2 separate regions of the Homo sapiens genome follow, and region 2 is linked to region 1. The links are contacts of gene promoters, found by promoter capture Hi-C in human tissues and cell types (Jung and others, 2019). All regions are on one chromosome and are shown on one strand. The core of a region is centred on a gene start or on the middle of the fragment in contact, and the rest is flanking DNA. Distances in the headings are between cores, read along the strand shown.

Region 1 (3,430 bases), core at 631-3,130:
CCAGTGGGTATATTTAGTGTGAGTTTGACAGTAACAGGCTAGGGAGGGCAGAGATTGGAGAAATTGGGGGTCGGGGGAGTGATTATGGGAAGAAGGTTAGTAAGGAACAAAACAATGCACCGTTTTGTAAAGATAATAAATGGAACGTGGCTGGTAGATACTATTCAGTACATTTTCTTAGGGTGAGTAAGGGTAGACCAGGGGAGGAGGGGGCGGAGAGAGTGTTACAGAAGAAAGAAAATAAGTAACCCTGATGGTTTAAGCCCTTTATAAAAAAGAAATGGCATCAGGTTTTTTTTTCTTTATTCCCCCCCACCCCACCCTTTGTAGTCAAGTGCATTTTAGCCACAAAGATCCCAACAAGAGAGTGGAAGGAAACTTAGACGAGGCTTTGTTTGACTCCGTGTAGCGACAACAAGAGAAACAAAACTACCTATTTGTAACGGACGTGCTGCCATTGCCCTCCGCATTGAGCGCCTACCTATTGAAATCTTTACGTCGGGACAATGGGAGAGCGGCTAAAATTACCCTCTTGGGTCCTGGGCGGGCAAGATTCCTGAGCCCCTACCCCCGCCCCCATCTCATCCTCCTCTAACCCGGGCCTTGCTGGGCTCCCCCTTCCCCAGTCCCGGCCGCCTTCTCCCAGTGTGCGCTGCCTGCACCTGTGCCTGGAGAGCATCGACCCCGCCTCCCAGGCCTTGAGCCCCTTTGCGGCGCAGCCCCAGCCTTGCGCGGCCTGGGCTTTGCGGCCACCACAATGGAAATCTACGGGGAAAATGCCAGGGCTGGTTCTGCTGGAGTCCTGGGAACTCTGCGTGGGAGGGAGTTTGTGACTGCGGCCCAAAAGCCACCTCCATACAGTGCCGTGGGATGCCAGGAAGTTGAAATCACCCTCCCCCATCGCCTGCACTTTTGAGCGCCCTTCCGTCTGTGTCTTTCCCCAGCCCCCATTTGAAAGCCGCACGACCGAAACCCTTCTTACGGGGAGGCATGGGATGGGAATGGGGAGTGGGGGCAGACAGTAGAAGCATCCCCTTTGCTACGGTTGAATGAAGACAGTCTAGTGGGAGATGTGGCTGGGGCTAAGAGGAAGAGCTGCAGTTTCCTGGGCCAAAGAGCTGAGTTGGACAGGGAGATGGCAGCTTACCAAGGCCTGCTGGTTCTCAGCTCTAGAGTCTGCCTTATGGTCCGAGCAGGATTTATTTTTAAGAACAGAGCAAGTTACGTGGAAGCAAGGAAGGTTTTGAGGACAGAGGTTTGGGTCTCCTAACTTCTAGTCGGGACTGTGAGAAGGGCGTGAGAGAGTGTTGGCACCTGTAAGGTAAGAGAGGAGAGCGGAAGAGCGCAGTACGGGAGCGGCACCAGAGGGGCTGGAGTTGGGGGGGAGTGCTGTGGATGAGCGGGAGAACAATGACACACCAACTCCTGCACTGGCTGTTTCCAGAAATACGAGTTGGACAGCCGCCCTGAGCCACCCACTGTGCCCTGCCCCACCCCCGCACCTTAGCTGCTTCCCGCGTCCCATCCTCATTTAAGTACCCTGCACCAAAAAGTAAATCAATATTAAGTTTAAAGAAAAAAAAACCCACGTAGTCTTAGTGCTGTTTACCCACTTCCTTCGAAAAGGCGTGTGGTGTGACCTGTTGCTGCGAGAGGGGATACAAAGGTTTCTCAGTGGCTGGCAGGCTGGCTCTGGGAGCCTCCTCCCCCTCCTCGCCTGCCCCCTCCTCCCCCGGCCTCCCCCGCGCGGCCGGCGGCGCGGGAGGCCCCGCCCCCTTTCATGCAAAACCCGGCAGCGAGGCTGGGCTCGAGTGGAGGAGCCGCCGCGCGCTGATTGGTCGCTAGAAACCCATTTATTCCCTGACAGCCCCCGTCACATGGATGGTTGTCTATTAACTTGTTCAAAAAAGTATCAGGAGTTGTCAAGGCAGAGAAGAGAGTGTTTGCAAAAGGGGGAAAGTAGTTTGCTGCCTCTTTAAGACTAGGACTGAGAGAAAGAAGAGGAGAGAGAAAGAAAGGGAGAGAAGTTTGAGCCCCAGGCTTAAGCCTTTCCAAAAAATAATAATAACAATCATCGGCGGCGGCAGGATCGGCCAGAGGAGGAGGGAAGCGCTTTTTTTGATCCTGATTCCAGTTTGCCTCTCTCTTTTTTTCCCCCAAATTATTCTTCGCCTGATTTTCCTCGCGGAGCCCTGCGCTCCCGACACCCCCGCCCGCCTCCCCTCCTCCTCTCCCCCCGCCCGCGGGCCCCCCAAAGTCCCGGCCGGGCCGAGGGTCGGCGGCCGCCGGCGGGCCGGGCCCGCGCACAGCGCCCGCATGTACAACATGATGGAGACGGAGCTGAAGCCGCCGGGCCCGCAGCAAACTTCGGGGGGCGGCGGCGGCAACTCCACCGCGGCGGCGGCCGGCGGCAACCAGAAAAACAGCCCGGACCGCGTCAAGCGGCCCATGAATGCCTTCATGGTGTGGTCCCGCGGGCAGCGGCGCAAGATGGCCCAGGAGAACCCCAAGATGCACAACTCGGAGATCAGCAAGCGCCTGGGCGCCGAGTGGAAACTTTTGTCGGAGACGGAGAAGCGGCCGTTCATCGACGAGGCTAAGCGGCTGCGAGCGCTGCACATGAAGGAGCACCCGGATTATAAATACCGGCCCCGGCGGAAAACCAAGACGCTCATGAAGAAGGATAAGTACACGCTGCCCGGCGGGCTGCTGGCCCCCGGCGGCAATAGCATGGCGAGCGGGGTCGGGGTGGGCGCCGGCCTGGGCGCGGGCGTGAACCAGCGCATGGACAGTTACGCGCACATGAACGGCTGGAGCAACGGCAGCTACAGCATGATGCAGGACCAGCTGGGCTACCCGCAGCACCCGGGCCTCAATGCGCACGGCGCAGCGCAGATGCAGCCCATGCACCGCTACGACGTGAGCGCCCTGCAGTACAACTCCATGACCAGCTCGCAGACCTACATGAACGGCTCGCCCACCTACAGCATGTCCTACTCGCAGCAGGGCACCCCTGGCATGGCTCTTGGCTCCATGGGTTCGGTGGTCAAGTCCGAGGCCAGCTCCAGCCCCCCTGTGGTTACCTCTTCCTCCCACTCCAGGGCGCCCTGCCAGGCCGGGGACCTCCGGGACATGATCAGCATGTATCTCCCCGGCGCCGAGGTGCCGGAACCCGCCGCCCCCAGCAGACTTCACATGTCCCAGCACTACCAGAGCGGCCCGGTGCCCGGCACGGCCATTAACGGCACACTGCCCCTCTCACACATGTGAGGGCCGGACAGCGAACTGGAGGGGGGAGAAATTTTCAAAGAAAAACGAGGGAAATGGGAGGGGTGCAAAAGAGGAGAGTAAGAAACAGCATGGAGAAAACCCGGTACGCTCAAAAAGAAAAAGGAAAAAAAAAAATCCCATCACCCACAGCAAATGACAG
Region 2 (3,430 bases), core at 365-2,864, 210 kb after region 1:
GGACTCTACAAAATCAGCATATTCAAAACTGGACTATCTTCTCCATACATTTCAATGAATGGAACCACAGCCACCTAGTTTGCCAAGCCAGAAATCTCAGCCTTTCTTTCATTGTTCTCACTCTCAACTTTGACACCCTATCTCCATTTTTGAAATTTATCTTCAAACTTTTTACTTTTCTTTTTTTTTAACTTTTATTTTCAGTTCAGGGTACATGCGCAGGTTTGTTATATAGGTAAACTCATGTCATGGGGGTTTGTTATACAGATAATTTCATCACCCAGGTACTAAGCCTAGAAGCCAATGGTTATTTTTTCTGATCCTCTCTTCCCTCCCACCCCCTACCCACATGTAGGCCCCAGTGTGTGTTGTTCCCCTCTTTCTGGCCATGTGTTCTCATCATTTAGCTTCTACTTGTTAGGGAGAACATGCAGTATTTGGTTTTCTGATCCTGCATTAGTTTGCTAAGGATAATGGCCTCTAGCTCCATCCATGTTCCTGCAAAAGACGTGATCTCATTCTTTTTATTTTTATTTTTTTATTATTATTATTTTTTTAGTATTTATTGATCATTCTTGGGTGTTTCTCGGAGAGGGGGATTTGGCAGGGTCATAGGACAATAGTAGAGGGAAGGTCAGCAGATAAACATGTGAACAAGGGTCTCTGGTTTTCCTAGGCAGAGGACCCTGCGGCCTTCCGCAGTGTTTGTGTCCCTGGGTACTTGAGATTAGGGAGTGGTGATGACTCTTAATGAGCATGCTTGCCTTCAAGCATCTGTTTAACAAAGCACATCTTGCCCCGCCCTTAATCCATTTAACCCTGAGTTGACACAGCACATGTTTCAGAGAGCACGGGGTTGGGGGTAAGGTTACAGATTAACAGTATCCCAAGGCAGAAGAATTTTTCTTAGTACAGAACAAAATGGAGTCTCCTATGTCTACTTCTTTCTACACAGACACAGTAACAATCTGATCTCTCTTTCTTTTCCCATTTCCCACTTTTCTATTCGGCAAAACCGCCATCGTCATCATGGCCCATTCTCAATGAGCTGTTGGGTACACATCACAGACGGGGTGGTGGCTGGGCAGAGAGGCTCCTCAATTCCCAGACGGGGCGGCCGGGCAGAGGCGCCCCCCACCTCCCGAATGGGGCGGCTGGCCGGGCGGGGGCTGCCCCCCACCTCCTGGACGGGGCAGCTGCCGGGCGGAGACGCTCCTCACTTCCCAGACGGGGCGGCTGCCGGGCGGAGGGGCTCCTCACTTCTCAGACGGGGCAGCCGGGCAGAGACGCTCCTCACCTTCCAGACAGGGTCGCGGCCGGGCAGAGGCGCTCCTCACATCCCAGACGGGGCGTCGGGGCAGAGGCGCTCCCCACATCTCAGACGACGGGCGGCCGGGCAGAGACTCTCCTCACTTCCTAGATGGGATGGCGGCCGGGAAGAGGCTCTCCTCACTTCCCAGACTGGGCGGCAGGGCAGAGGGGCTCCTCACATCCCAGACGGGGTGGCGGCTGGGCAGAGGCTGCAATCTCCGCACTTTGGGAGGCCAAGGCAGGCGGCTGGGAGGTGGAGGTTGTAGCAAGTCGAGATCACGCCACTGCACTCCAGCCTGGGCAAGATTGAGCACTGAGTGAGCGAGATTCCGTCTGCAATCCCGGCACCTCGGGAGGCCCAGGCGGGCAGATCACTCACGTTCAGGAGCTGGAGACCAGCCCGGCCAACACGTCGAAACCCCGTCTCCACCAAAAAATACAAAAACCAGTCAGGCGTGGCGGCACGCGCCTGCAATCCCAGGCACTCGGCAGGCTGAGGCAGGAGAATCAGGCAGGGAGGTTGCAGTGAGCCGAGATGGCGGCAGTACAGTCCAGCCTCGGCTGGGCATCAGAGGGAGACCGTGGAAAGTGGGAGACGGGAGACGGGAGAGGGAGAGGGAGAGGGAGAGGGAGATCTCATTCTTTTTTATGGATTGAAAGTATTCCCTGGTGTATACGTACCACATTTTCTTTTTTTTCTTTGTCTTTTTTTTTTTTTTTTTGAGGTGGAGTCTCAATCCGTTGCCCAGGCTGGAGTGCGGTGGTGCGATCTCGCCCCACTGCAAGCTGCGCCTCCTGGGTTCACGCCATTCTCCTGCCTCAGCCTCCCGAGTAGCTGGGACTGCAGGTGTCCGCCATCACGCCCGGCTATGTTTTGTATTTTTAGTAGAGACGGGGTTTCACCGTGTTAGCCAGGATGGTCTCAATCTCCTGCCTCAGCCTCCCAAAGTGCTGGGATTATAGGCGTGAGCCACCGTGCCCGGCCGTACCATATTTTCTTTATCCAATCTGTCATTAGTGAACATTTAGATTGATTCCATGTCTTTGCTATTGTGAATAGTGCTGCAGTGAACATGAAAGTGCCTGTGTCTTTATGGTAGAATGATTTATATTCTTATGGGTGTATACCCAGTAATGGGATTGCTGGGTGAAATGACTGTTCTGCTTTTAGCTCTTTGAGGAATTGCCACATTGCTTTCCTTGATGGTTGAACTAATTTACACTCCCACCAACGGTGTTTAAGAGTTCCCTTTTCTCCACAACCTTGCCAGCATCTGTTGTTTTGACTTTTTATTTTTATTTATTTTATTTTATTATTTATTTATTTATTTTTTTGAGATGGAGTTTCACTCTTGTTGCCCAGGCTGGAGTGCAATGGCACAATCTTGGCTCATTGCAACCTCCGCCTCCCAGGTTCAAGCGATTCTCCTGCCTCAGCTCCCGAGTAGCTGGGATTACAGACATGTACCACCATGCCTGGCTAATTTTTGTATTATTTTTATTGTTATTTTTTAGTACAGATGGGGTTGCTCCATGTTGGTCAGGCTGGTCTTGAACTCCTGACCTCAGGTGATAGGCCTGCCTTGGCCTCCCACAGTGCTGGGATTACAGACGTGAGCCACCAAGCCTGGCCTTGACTTTTTAATAATAGCCATTCTGACTTTTATGAGATGGTATCTCACTGTGGTTTTGATTTGCACTTCTCCAATGATCAGTAATATTAAGCATTTTTTCAAGGCTTGTTAGCCATATGTATGTCTTCTTTTGAAAAGTGTCTGTTCATGTCCCCTGCCAACTTTTTCTATAGGGTTGTTTTTTTTTCTTGTTTAAATTTACTAAATTTAAACAAGAAATTTAAATTTTTTCTTGTTAAATTTATTTAGGTTCTTTATAGATGTTGGATATTAGACCTTTGTCAGATGCATAGTTTGCAAATATTATCTCCCATTCTGTAGGTTGTCTGTTTACTCTGTTGACATTTTCTTTTGTCGTGTAGAAGCTCTTAAGTTTAATTAGTTCCCATTTGTCAATTTTTTTCCTTTTGTTGCAATTGCTTTTGGTGTCTTTGTCATGAAATCTTTGCCCATTCCTATGTCCAGAATGGTATTGCCTCAGTTGT

Evidence for each region. Contacts are between HindIII fragments. The study calls those that stand out against the background at their distance.
Region 2: a contact is called between a fragment that was not itself captured here and the fragment with the promoter of SOX2 in region 1, in 2 of the 25 tissues and cell types used here (bladder and neural progenitor cells).

What each region holds. Positions count from the first base shown.
Region 1 is chr3:181,710,045-181,713,474 of GRCh38, forward strand. It overlaps SOX2 (SRY-box transcription factor 2), which reads left to right and starts at 1,881. Exons shown (of 1, transcript NM_003106.4): 1 at 1,881-3,430. The coding sequence starts at 2,317. The coding sequence ends at 3,270. The region is part of intron 6 of SOX2-OT (SOX2 overlapping transcript); the gene reads left to right. RefSeq lists enhancers at 310-1,163, 1,164-2,016, 2,017-2,870, 2,871-3,430, a promoter at 1,109-2,142 and a silencer at 1,722-1,781. The HindIII fragment of the contact is 19,833 bases long and covers 1-3,430 here.
Region 2 is chr3:181,924,764-181,928,193 of GRCh38, forward strand. No RefSeq gene overlaps it. Among named protein-coding and RNA genes, the nearest start is that of LINC01206, 26 kb to the right of the region's middle. RefSeq lists enhancers at 1,098-1,691, 1,692-2,283. The HindIII fragment of the contact is 5,593 bases long and covers 1-3,430 here.